Linked DNA regions of Homo sapiens: all the other regions are linked to region 2. Evidence: promoter capture Hi-C in 16 types of primary human blood cells and fetal thymus (Javierre and others, 2016). All regions are on one chromosome and are shown on one strand. Each heading gives the region's core, a stretch centred on a gene start or on the middle of the fragment in contact. The rest is flanking DNA. Distances are from core to core; before and after follow the strand shown. Region 1 has its middle 5.1 kb from the start of PACS2. Region 2 holds the start of JAG2 (jagged canonical Notch ligand 2). Region 3 overlaps AHNAK2 (AHNAK nucleoprotein 2).

What was found. Contacts are between HindIII fragments. The CHiCAGO score rates a contact against its expected background, and 5 or more counts as called.
Region 1: a fragment that was not itself captured here is called in contact with the fragment with the promoter of JAG2 in region 2 in 2 of 17 cell types (endothelial precursors and naive CD4 T cells); the score reaches 6.5 in endothelial precursors.
Region 3: a fragment that was not itself captured here is called in contact with the fragment with the promoter of JAG2 in region 2 in 1 of 17 cell types (naive CD4 T cells); the score reaches 5.1 in naive CD4 T cells.

Annotation. Positions count from the first base shown.
Region 1 is chr14:105,307,614-105,311,651 of GRCh38, reverse strand. It overlaps a transcript of BRF1 not described here, the pseudogene LOC124903409 and a transcript of PACS2 not described here. Among named protein-coding and RNA genes, the nearest start is that of PACS2, 5.1 kb to the left of the region's middle. The HindIII fragment of the contact is 4,673 bases long and covers 1-4,006 here.
Region 2 is chr14:105,166,377-105,170,504 of GRCh38, reverse strand. It overlaps JAG2 (jagged canonical Notch ligand 2), which reads left to right and starts at 1,729. Exons shown (of 26, transcript NM_002226.5): 1 at 1,729-2,150; 2 at 2,398-2,748. The coding sequence starts at 2,085. RefSeq lists an enhancer at 2,508-3,007. The HindIII fragment of the contact is 17,945 bases long and covers 1-4,128 here.
Region 3 is chr14:104,938,589-104,942,838 of GRCh38, reverse strand. AHNAK2 (AHNAK nucleoprotein 2) reads left to right here. Exons shown (of 7, transcript NM_138420.4): 7 at 1-4,250. Among named protein-coding and RNA genes, the nearest start is that of PLD4, 16 kb to the right of the region's middle. RefSeq lists an enhancer at 2,844-3,344. The HindIII fragment of the contact is 1,198 bases long and covers 2,268-3,465 here.

The sequences.
Region 1 (4,038 bases), core at 421-2,920, 140 kb before region 2:
GGGTTGTAGAGTAGAACAGGGTTAGGTGAGCCATGATAGAACCTGATAGAATATTCTACAGCTGGCAGAAATAGTGAGTTAAAAGTAGCTAAAAACAGGCCAGTCGCAGGGGCTCACACCTGTAATCCCAGCACTTTGGGAGGCCAAAGCGCACAGATCCCGTGACCTCAGGAGTTCAAGACCAGCTTGGGCAATATGGCAAAGTCCCATCTCTAACAAAAATACAAAAACGTACCTGGGCATGGTGGTGCGCATCTGTGATCCCAGTGACTTGGGAAGCTGAGGTGGGAGAATCACTTGAACCCAGGAGGTGGAGGTTGCAGTGAACCAGGATCACACCACTGCACTCCAGTCTGGGGGACAGAGCCAGGCTCCATCTCAAAAAATAAAAATAAAAAGGCCGGGCACAGTGGCTCATGCCTGTAATCTTAGCACTTTGGGAGGCCGAAGTGGGTGGATCACCTGAGGTCAGGAGTTTGTGACCATCCTGGCCAACATAGTGAAACCCCATCTCTACTAAAAATACAAAAAATTAGTGGGGCATGATGGTGCGCGCCTGTAATCCCAGCTACTCGGGAGGCTGAGGCAGGAGAATCGCTTGAACCCAGCAGGCAGAGGTTCCATTGAGCCAAGATTGTGCCACTGCACTCCAGCCTGGGTGACAAGAGTGAAACTCTGTCTCAAGAAAACAAAAATGTATGTGAAAATGCATGTCCATGTGCAGTATGTATTTACATGTTAGTGATTATACATATAAAACACCTATTTTCAGGTATAGAAAAATATTGATAGGATACAAATTAATCCAAAGTGTTAAGAAAGTATCTCTGTGTGATGGGGATTCCATTGATTTGGTTTCTCCTTTTTGCTTATCTTTATCTCCTATTTTCTCCATGATGAACATGTATTAATTGTGTAGGGAAAATCAAACCACAGCAGGGTGAGCTGCCGCTGGCTGGAGAGCCGGGCGCCATCTGGCTGGGGCTGCGCCCCGTCCTGAAAAAACCAAACGTGCAAAGGGAACCCTCACCCAACGCAACAAACTATTGAGGATGATCTTTGTAAGAATACTGAATGTTTCACTAGGGTAACATTCTTTTTTTTTTTTTTTTTTTTTTGAGACAGAGTCTCGCTCTGTCTGTCGCCCAGGCTGGAGTGCAGTGGTGCCATCTCAGCTCACTGCAAGCTCTGCCTCCCGGGTTCATGCCATTCTCCTGCCTCAGCCTCCTGAGTAGGGGGGACTACAGGCGCCTGCCACCACGCCTGGCTAATTTTTTGTATTTTTATTAGAGACGGGGTTTCACCGTGTTAGCCAGGATGGTCTTGATCTCCTGACCTCATGATCCGCCCGCCTCGACCTCCCAAAGTGCTGGGATTACAGGCGTGAGCCACTGTGCCTGGCTCACTAGGGTAACATTCTTAATATCAAAGGAAATCATACAAGTCCATAAGACCACTAAAAAATTCCCAGTGGAAAATGGTTAGAGAAGCTACAAAAGATTCACAAAAGAATAAGTGAGACAGTTGTCACTACTATCACGAATTGTAAATTATAAAAAGATGCACATGGCTGGGTGCGGTGGCTCATACCTGTAATCCCAGCACTTTGGGAGGCCGAGGCGGGTGGATCTCCAGGTCAGGAGTTCAAAACTAGCCTGACCAATACACTGAAACCCCGTCTCTACTAAAAATACAAAAATTAGTCGGGTGTGGTGGCGGGCGCCTGTAGTCCCAGCTAGTCGGGAGGCTGAGACAGGAGAATTGCTTGAATCCAGGAGGCGGAGCTTGCAGTGAGCCGAGATTGTGCCACTGCACTCCTGCCTGGGCAAGAGAGTGAGACTCCGTCTAAAAAAAAAAAAAAAAAAAAAAAAAAAAGACACACATCACCACCTTCTCCTTAATGCAGGCTAATCTAGACCTAATACAGACCTAAGGTCGTGATGACATCCTCGGTGTCCTGCACGCTGCTCCCCTCCTGGGTTGGGCGCAGGCAGCGCAGCTCCCTCACACAGCACCTGGGGCAGGACCCAGAGCAGCTCTGCAGAGTGGCTTGGCAGCGTCTTGGGAGATTTGCCTGGGCTCATGGGTATCCCATGGCATCCTGCAGGTGACACTGGAAATGTCAACAGGGACACAGGTCCAGGTGTGTGAGATATTTCAAACAGCAACACCTACAGAAAGGAATGTCCAGTCCAGGGGAAATGACAAAACTTGCCCTGGCACATCCACCCCATGGGATGTGGAATAACCAGCAAAACGGAACGCTGCCTCAGTTTTAGCAACATGGGGAAATTCTCAGATATGTGATTGTGTGACAAATCAGGGTGTAAAGTTGAACACAGCATGACCTGGATTCAGGAATAAAACTCTCCCCTCTTGACTGTGGTTATCCTGAGCCCCAAGATTAAGAGGGACCTTGATGCATAAATTTTAACACTTCTTTCTTTCCCACAATAGAATATCATCACAATAAGCCAGGACATAACTTAAATATTAGAAAAGAAAGGAAAACACCCAGGCCCTAATACAGAAATCAGCCAAGGACATTCACAGACATCAGAACAGCAATTACCGCAACACGTGTCAACCAACACTCAACCTCAGTGCTCTTCGTGCAGGATGGATTTCTGGTTTTGTTAGGTTTTGTTTGTCTTTTTCTTTTTTTTTCTTTTGTTTTCTTGACAGGGTCTTGCTCTGTCAACCAGGCTGGAGTGCAGTGGTGCCATCATGGCTCACTGTAGGCCAGATCTCCTGGACTCAAACCATCCTCCTGCCTCAGCCTCTCAAAGTGCTGGGATTACAAGTGTGAACCACTGTGCTGGGTCCCTAAGGGTTTTAAAAAATTATTTATTTATTTAGAGACAAAGTCATGGCTGGGCACAGTGGCTCATGCCTGTAATCCCAGCACTTTGGGGGGCTGAGGCAGGCGGATCATGAAGTCAGGAGTTCCAGACCAGCCTGGCCAACATGGTGAAACCCTGTCTCTACTAAAACTGCAAAACTTAGCTGGGCACAGTGGCTCATACCTGTAATCCCAGCTACTCAGAAGGCTGAGGCAGGAGAATCACTTGAACCCAGGAGGCGGAGGTTGCAGTGAGCCAAGATTGCACCACTGCACTCCAGCCCGGACGACAGAGCAAGACTCCATCTCAAAAAAAAAAAAAAAAAAAGACAGAATCTGCCTCTGTCGTGCCCAGGCTGGAGTACAATGGTGCCATCTCAGCTCACTGCAACTTCTGTCTCCTGGGCTCAGGCAATCCTCCCTCTTCAGCCTCCCGAGTAGCTGGGACCACAGGCATGTACCACCACACCTGGCTAATTTTTGTATTTTTGTTAGAGATGCTGTTTTGCCATATTTCCCAGGCTGGTCTCAAACACCTGGGCTCAATCAATCCTCTCACCTCAGCCTCCCAAAGTGCTGGGATAACAGGTGTGAGCCACTGTGCCCGGCCTAATTGTTTTTTTGGGGGGGACAGAGTCTCACTCTATGGTCCAGGCTGGAGTGCTGTGGTGTGATCATAACTCACTGCAGCCTCAGTCACCTGGGTTCAAGCGATTCTCCTGCCTCAGCCTCCCAAGTAGCTGAACTAGAGGCACGCACCACCACGCACAGCTAATTTTTAAATTTTTTGTAGAGACAGGGATCTCACTTTGTTGCCCAGGCTGGTCTCGAACTCCTGGGCTCAAGCTATCCTCCCACCTCTGCCTCCCAAAGTGCTGGGATGACAGGCGTGAGCCACTGTCCTGGCCTGGCCCTTGACTTCTGTGGTGGAAGGTGGACTGGAGCCTCACCAAGTCTCACTCGAGTTGCGGAGAACAGACAGGAACAGGGACTTGCCTTCTGAGCAGTCTGTCTACCAGACACATGTCCTCCATCATACTCCGCAGTGCTAGGGTGGGCTATTCTTATCCCTGTTATGCAGATGAGGAAGTAGAAACCTAGAGAGATTGAAGCACTTGCCCAAGGCCAGGCAGCAGGTGAGAAGGTGAGAAGGCCATAGAAGCTTGCTTTCTCATTTCCCCTGCTGACTGCTGCAT
Region 2 (4,128 bases), core at 480-2,979:
GGTGTGCAGGGGCGGAGTCTCCCTTGTTCACCACTTGGCCAAGTGCCCAGCAGAGGCACCCAGCACCCCCTCCCCCACCATAGTGGGGCAGTGGGCGCAGGTGGGGATGGAGCCCTGGGCCTCTGGAGCCGGGCAGGGGGCTTCTCTGTCCTGGGGCTTCCCTCTCTCGAGTACCCGAGTACCTGCCCCCAGGCCAAAGCACAGGAGAGGTGGCATCTCCACAGGGAGCCCCTCCCCCCGTAGGCGGTAATCACCGCCCACACACCGGAAGGCGGCAACTGGAAGGCTCTGAACACAGCTTGGATTCTCTTGTTTGGTGGGGGTCTCTGTGCGGGCCTCATCCTGGCTTGTGTCTTAATCCCCACGAAGCCTACCCACCACCAAGTTTGGGGTGGGCACTCTGAGCAGAGCCAGCTGAGGTGGGCATGGGGGGCTCCCACCCACCCCTTTAGGGACCTTCAGCTGAGCCTGCGGCCTGGATCCTGGAGGAGCTGCTAAACAGGGATGGAGCAGGCAGACCCTGCGCATGGGGTGTTCACAGGCCCTGTGCCTCCAAAGCTCTCTTCCTTCAGCCCTCAGCCCCAGCAGCATGGTGGCAGTGACTTGCTCCAGGCTGGGGGGCTGCACAGCCACCCAGCTCCGGGCACAGGGCAAATTTGCGAGAGGAGCTAGGGGGAGAGAAGACAGCTCAGTTATCATGGGGATGGGTTGAGGACCCCTCTGGACCATATGGGGATCTTTAACCACCAAGGTGACCCCTAGCTCTGGAAAGGACCGTGCTCACTGGAGGAGAGGAAGGTGCCATTGGTTTTGACCCTGTGGAGGAGCTGCGAGGTCACCCAGGGAGAGGGCAAGGAGGTGACCGCAGAGGATGGGGTGTGGAAGCCTGGTGACCAGGGCAGCAGTGGGAGGCCTCTCTCGGGGTAGCCTTCAGGGACAGGCACTGCCGACTTTTGTTCCCCATTTCCCGCCTCTCGCCCCCCAAGCCCAGACCTGAGTTTGGGGGGCGAGAGGCGGGAAACGGGGAATGTGGCCTGAGCATTTCCTGAGGGCATGGCCTGGCTACCTCGACGCCAGCGCCGAGCTGAGCAGTCTGCACCCTGGAGCATTTGTTGACTGGCTGCTTGACCAGCGCGCCTCGCAGAGGGGAAGGCAGGGGCGTCGGAGGGGCGCAGCGCCCCCTGCAGCCGGCGTGGAGGCGGTAGGAGCGGCGCGGAGAAGGGGAGATTCTCGGAGGAGGTGGGGGGCGCGCAGTAGGGGCTGGGCCCGGCTCTGGCCCCAGGGCCGCGCCACCCCGCGTGGGGGCCGAGCCCTGATCAGAGTAGGAGGCGGCATCTCCTCTGGGACTGCGAGGAGCGCGGCGGTGGCGCACTGATGGGAGGGGACCACACGGCAACCTCGGGGCGCCCCACCCCCGGTTTCTGACACCCGGCAGGAGCCCAGGCGGAGGAGGGGAGGCAGCTTTGCGGCGCCGGCGCACGCCTCGCCGACTCACGCGGAGGTGTGAGCGGGGCCCCCGCGGCCCGCGCTGACCCCGAGGCCCCGTGCCCCCGCCGCCCGGGCGCCCTGGGGGGCGCGCGCCGGGCCGGGGCGCTGGCAGGCGACGCCCTCCACCGCCTTTAAAGCCTGGGGCGCCCCCGGACCCCCCCCCGGCCCCACCCCGCGGCGCGGCCCCGCCCCCTCATGCATATGCAGGTGCGCGGGTGACGAATGGGCGAGCGAGCTGTCAGTCTCGTTCCGAACTTGTTGGCTGCGGTGCCGGGAGCGCGGGCGCGCAGAGCCGAGGCCGGGACCCGCTGCCTTCACCGCCGCCGCCGTCGCCGCCGGGTGGGAGCCGGGCCGGGCAGCCGGAGCGCGGCCGCCAGCGAGCCGGAGCTGCCGCCGCCCCTGCACGCCCGCCGCCCAGGCCCGCGCGCCGCGGCGCTGCGCTCGACCCCGCCCGCGCCGCCGCCGCCGCCGCCTCTGCCGCTGCCGCTGCCTCTGCGGGCGCTCGGAGGGCGGGCGGGCGCTGGGAGGCCGGCGCGGCGGCTGGGAGCCGGGCGCGGGCGGCGGCGGCGGGGCCGGGCGGGCGGGTCGCGGGGGCAATGCGGGCGCAGGGCCGGGGGCGCCTTCCCCGGCGGCTGCTGCTGCTGCTGGCGCTCTGGGTGCAGGTGAGCGGGGCGGCGGGGGCGGCGGGGGTCGCGGACGGGGCACACCGGGCCGCCCCTAGGGGCCGGGCGGGCACTGCCTGGGGCCGCCGTGGTTCGGAAGCCCTCGAGGCTGCGCGCGGCGGCTGGGGCTCCGGGCGGGCGCGGCTGGGTGGGGGCGGGGCGGCGGGGCCTGTTCCCCCACCCCTGGCGCCCGGCCCGCCGACCCCGGCCCGCGCCTCCCTCCGCTCTCCCGCTGCCTTATTTTTAGGCGGCGCGGCCCATGGGCTATTTCGAGCTGCAGCTGAGCGCGCTGCGGAACGTGAACGGGGAGCTGCTGAGCGGCGCCTGCTGTGACGGCGACGGCCGGACAACGCGCGCGGGGGGCTGCGGCCACGACGAGTGCGACACGTACGTGCGCGTGTGCCTTAAGGAGTACCAGGCCAAGGTGACGCCCACGGGGCCCTGCAGCTACGGCCACGGCGCCACGCCCGTGCTGGGCGGCAACTCCTTCTACCTGCCGCCGGCGGGCGCTGCGGGGGACCGAGCGCGGGCGCGGGCCCGGGCCGGCGGCGACCAGGACCCGGGCCTCGTCGTCATCCCCTTCCAGTTCGCCTGGCCGGTACGTGCGCTCCATCCCTCGTGCTCCAGCCCTTCCCTCTCTCTCCGCGCCCCGGCCCCGCGCGCTTCGCGACCCCCAACACCTGCGGCCGGGTCTGCGTGCGAGCCGCGCGCGCCCAGGCGGGGCGGGGCCGGCAGGGGGCGCGTGCTCTGGGGACTTGGTCCGCGCCTGGCCACGTGGGCGCGCCGGGGCCCCGGGGCCACCGGGAGCGGGGTCGCGGCGGGGGCGGGGCGGCGGCGTCCCGCGTGCGCGGCGGTGTGCGGCGTGTGCCTGCGTCGCCCTGCGCGTGTCTGTCTGGGTGGGGAGGCGAGGCGAGGCGCCCCGGTCCCGGGCAGGCCGCGGTGGCATGTGCGCAGCGCGTGCTGGGGCTGGTCTAGGGCAGGCCCTGACTGAGCCGCCCCGGGCCCGTGGCCAGCCTGCGCCTGCCCTGCAGTTTCCTGGATGCCTGGGGGGCACGGGCGGGCGCCGTGGGACCTAGGCCCGGGAGAGCCTAACGCCTAACGCTTATGTCGGCAGAAGCCCCCGATGGTGACCCAAGATCGTTCAGAGACAGAGATAGTGGATCCTGGTGCAGTGACCTTCTGTGGCACTGCCCTGTTTGTGGGTTTTTTTGGTTTTGTTATTCTGGAGGGGCAGAAGCTGAGTCGGGGCTGTCTGGTCTCCCCTGGCAGGTGGCCAGTCAGGCAGGAGCCCTGGCCTGGGCGTGCTGGGAGGAGGGGTGGTAGGGGTCCAGTGTCACTGGGAAACAGGTACTCATCCCAGTGGGCTGGCAGGTGGGTAGTGGTAGGTGGGCAGGCCCAGGCCTCGGGCGCCTTACCTCATTGCCTGGAGCACGGCCTTGCCCTGGTGCCCAGAGGTCCTTCCCTGCTTGGTCATTGTGCTGGGGGCCTGGAACTGGGTGAGTGCGGGAATGAGAGCACCATGCAGACCTGTGATCAGGGAGTAGATGGATCTGGGAGCCAGGAAGTGGCTCCAGTCAGCAGGAGGCACCGGAGTGTGCCCACCTGGTATCCTGGGCCCTGAAGTGATTGTGAGTTGAGGGCAATCCCTGCCGAGCTCACGCCAGTTGGGCCTGCCGTGTGTGGCTCCCAGTCCTGTGCTGTACCTTTGCAGCCCTGGCTGGCAGCCTTGCCTGCTGCCCCCATCCTCACCGCTTCCTGAGCTCCCACCCGTGGAAGCTGGCCACAGTCTCCTCTGGCCATGTCCTCAACCCGTGAGCACCCCGCCGAGTATCCCTTGACCAGGGGGGCCCCAGAGAGGGGAAAGTGTCCCCCAGATGGAAAAGGCAGGGGCGGGCATGGGAGGGCCCAGGCAGTTGTGAGAAGCCCAGCCCCTCGCCCCCACGGCGGTGCAGCAGGCAGGTCTGAGCAGGGCCCGCAG
Region 3 (4,250 bases), core at 1,617-4,116, 230 kb after region 2:
CCCCTGCCCAAGGGAGCCGGCCTCAAAGGGCACCTCCCCAAGGTGCAGATGCCCTGTTTGAAGATGCCCAAAGTGGCCCTCAAGGGCCCCCAGGTGGATGTCAAGGGCCCCAAGCTGGACCTGAAAGGCCCCAAGGCGGATGTGATGACCCCCGTCGTGGAGGTGTCTCTGCCCAGCATGGAGGTGGACGTCGAGGCCCCGGGAGCCAAGCTGGACAGTGTGCGGCTGGAGGGTGACCTGTCCCTAGCCGACAAGGACATGACTGCCAAAGACAGCAAGTTCAAAATGCCCAAGTTCAAGATGCCGTCGTTCGGGGTGTCTGCCCCAGGCAAGTCCATCGAGGCCTCGTTGGATGTGTCTGCGCTGAAGGTGGAGGCTGACGTGAGCCTCCCCTCCATGCAGGGGGACCTGAAGACCACTCACCTCAGCATTCAGCCCCCTTCCGCTGATCTGGAGGTCCAGGCTGGCCAAGAGGATGTGAAACTCCCAGAGGGCCCTGTGCATGAGGGAGCCGGCCTCAAAGGGCACCTGCCGAAGCTGCAGATGCCCAGTTTCAAGGTACCCAAAGTGGACCTCAAGGGTCCCCAGATAGACGTTAATGTCCCCAAGCTGGACCTGAAAGGCCCCAAGGTGGAGGTGACGTCCCCCAACCTGGACGTGTCTCTGCCCAGCATGGAGGTGGACATCCAAGCCCCAGGAGCCAAGCTGGACAGTACGCGGCTGGAGGGGGACCTGTCCCTGGCTGACAAGGACGTGACTGCCAAAGACAGCAAGTTCAAAATGCCCAAGTTCAAGATGCCATCCTTTGGGATGTTGTCCCCAGGCAAGTCCATCGAGGTCTCGGTGGATGTGTCTGCGCCAAAGATGGAGGCCGACATGAGCATTCCCTCCATGCAGGGGGACCTCAAGACCACTGACCTCCGCATTCAGGCCCCTTCCGCCGACCTGGAGGTCCAGGCTGGCCAGGTGGACTTGAAACTTCCAGAAGGCCACATGCCCGAGGTAGCCGGCCTCAAAGGGCACCTGCCCAAGGTGGAGATGCCCAGTTTCAAGATGCCCAAAGTGGACCTCAAGGGCCCCCAGGTGGACGTCAAGGGCCCCAAGCTGGACCTGAAAGGCCCAAAGGCAGAGGTGATGGCCCCCGATGTGGAGGTGTCTCTGCCCAGCGTGGAGACGGATGTCCAGGCCCCAGGATCCATGCTGGATGGTGCGCGGCTTGAGGGGGACCTGTCCCTGGCCCACGAGGATGTAGCTGGGAAAGACAGTAAGTTTCAAGGACCAAAACTGAGCACGTCTGGTTTTGAATGGTCGTCAAAGAAAGTTTCCATGTCTTCCTCTGAAATCGAAGGAAATGTTACATTCCATGAGAAGACTTCCACATTTCCCATTGTGGAATCTGTTGTTCATGAAGGTGATCTTCATGATCCATCTCGCGATGGTAACTTGGGGCTTGCTGTTGGAGAAGTTGGAATGGATTCGAAGTTTAAGAAACTGCATTTTAAAGTGCCCAAAGTTTCATTTTCTTCTACCAAAACTCCTAAAGATAGTTTAGTCCCAGGTGCAAAGTCTAGCATAGGTCTTTCCACGATTCCTTTATCATCTTCAGAATGCTCAAGTTTTGAATTACAACAGGTTTCGGCTTGTTCAGAGCCATCCATGCAGATGCCTAAGGTGGGTTTTGCTGGGTTTCCATCATCCCGGCTTGATCTCACTGGTCCTCACTTTGAATCTTCTATTCTCTCTCCCTGTGAGGATGTTACACTTACAAAATACCAGGTGACTGTTCCCAGAGCTGCCTTGGCCCCTGAGCTTGCTCTGGAAATTCCTTCTGGGTCTCAGGCTGATATTCCTCTTCCCAAGACAGAGTGCTCCACTGACCTGCAGCCTCCAGAGGGAGTTCCAACATCTCAAGCTGAGAGTCACTCTGGCCCACTGAATTCCATGATTCCTGTTTCTCTTGGTCAGGTATCTTTTCCTAAATTCTATAAACCAAAGTTTGTGTTTTCAGTCCCCCAAATGGCAGTTCCTGAGGGAGACCTACATGCAGCAGTGGGTGCCCCAGTCATGTCTCCTCTTAGCCCTGGAGAAAGAGTGCAGTGCCCCTTGCCAAGCACCCAGCTGCCATCCCCAGGCACCTGTGTGTCTCAGGGCCCAGAAGAGCTTGTGGCCTCCTTGCAGACATCAGTAGTGGCCCCTGGAGAAGCCCCTTCTGAAGATGCTGACCACGAAGGGAAAGGGAGTCCCTTGAAAATGCCTAAGATTAAGCTTCCATCATTTAGGTGGTCCCCGAAGAAGGAAACAGGGCCAAAGGTGGACCCAGAATGCAGCGTGGAGGACTCAAAACTCAGCCTGGTTTTAGACAAGGATGAAGTGGCCCCGCAGTCTGCCATCCACATGGATCTGCCTCCTGAGAGGGATGGAGAGAAGGGGAGGAGCACAAAGCCTGGCTTTGCCATGCCAAAACTTGCACTTCCCAAAATGAAGGCTTCTAAGAGTGGGGTCAGCCTGCCACAGAGAGACGTGGATCCTTCCCTTTCTAGTGCCACAGCAGGGGGTAGCTTTCAAGACACAGAAAAGGCCAGCAGTGACGGTGGTAGGGGAGGACTTGGTGCAACAGCAAGTGCCACAGGAAGTGAGGGTGTGAACCTCCACCGGCCACAGGTCCACATTCCCAGTTTGGGCTTTGCCAAACCTGATCTCAGATCCTCCAAGGCCAAGGTGGAGGTGAGCCAGCCTGAAGCTGACCTGCCTCTTCCCAAACATGATCTGTCTACCGAAGGTGACAGCAGAGGATGTGGGCTCGGGGATGTCCCAGTGAGCCAGCCTTGTGGGGAGGGGATAGCCCCCACACCTGAAGATCCCCTCCAGCCATCCTGTAGAAAACCAGATGCTGAAGTCCTCACAGTGGAAAGCCCAGAGGAGGAAGCCATGACCAAGTACTCGCAGGAAAGCTGGTTTAAAATGCCCAAGTTCCGCATGCCCAGCCTTAGGCGCTCTTTCAGGGACAGAGGCGGGGCTGGAAAGCTGGAAGTGGCTCAGACACAGGCACCGGCAGCAACAGGGGGTGAAGCAGCAGCTAAAGTCAAAGAGTTCCTTGTTTCTGGGTCAAACGTGGAGGCAGCTATGTCCCTACAGCTCCCAGAGGCAGATGCAGAAGTGACAGCTTCTGAGAGCAAATCATCCACAGATATTCTAAGGTGTGATCTTGACAGCACAGGCTTGAAGCTGCACCTCTCCACTGCTGGGATGACTGGGGATGAGCTTTCCACTTCTGAGGTCAGGATCCATCCATCCAAAGGACCTCTCCCTTTTCAGATGCCTGGCATGAGGCTTCCAGAAACCCAGGTTCTTCCAGGAGAAATAGATGAGACTCCTCTTTCCAAGCCAGGACATGACCTTGCCAGCATGGAGGATAAAACAGAGAAATGGTCTTCCCAGCCTGAAGGTCCACTTAAATTGAAAGCTTCAAGTACTGATATGCCATCCCAGATTTCTGTGGTTAATGTGGATCAACTGTGGGAAGATTCTGTCCTAACTGTCAAATTCCCCAAATTAATGGTACCAAGGTTCTCCTTCCCTGCCCCCAGCTCAGAGGATGATGTGTTCATCCCCACTGTGAGGGAAGTGCAGTGTCCAGAGGCCAATATTGATACAGCCCTTTGTAAGGAAAGTCCGGGGCTCTGGGGAGCCAGCATCCTGAAGGCAGGTGCTGGGGTCCCTGGGGAGCAGCCTGTGGACCTTAACCTGCCTTTGGAAGCTCCCCCAATTTCAAAGGTCAGAGTGCATATTCAGGGTGCTCAGGTTGAAAGTCAAGAGGTCACTATACACAGCATAGTGACACCAGAGTTTGTAGATCTCTCAGTACCCAGGACTTTTTCCACTCAGATTGTGCGGGAATCAGAGATCCCCACGTCAGAGATTCAAACACCTTCGTACGGATTTTCCTTATTAAAAGTGAAAATCCCAGAGCCCCACACGCAGGCTAGAGTGTACACAACAATGACTCAACACTCTAGGACTCAGGAGGGCACAGAAGAGGCTCCCATACAAGCCACCCCAGGAGTAGACTCCATTTCTGGAGATCTCCAGCCTGACACTGGAGAACCATTTGAGATGATCTCTTCCAGCGTCAATGTACTGGGACAGCAAACACTCACATTTGAAGTTCCTTCTGGCCACCAGCTTGCAGACAGCTGTTCAGATGAGGAGCCAGCAGAAATTCTTGAGTTTCCCCCTGATGATAGCCAAGA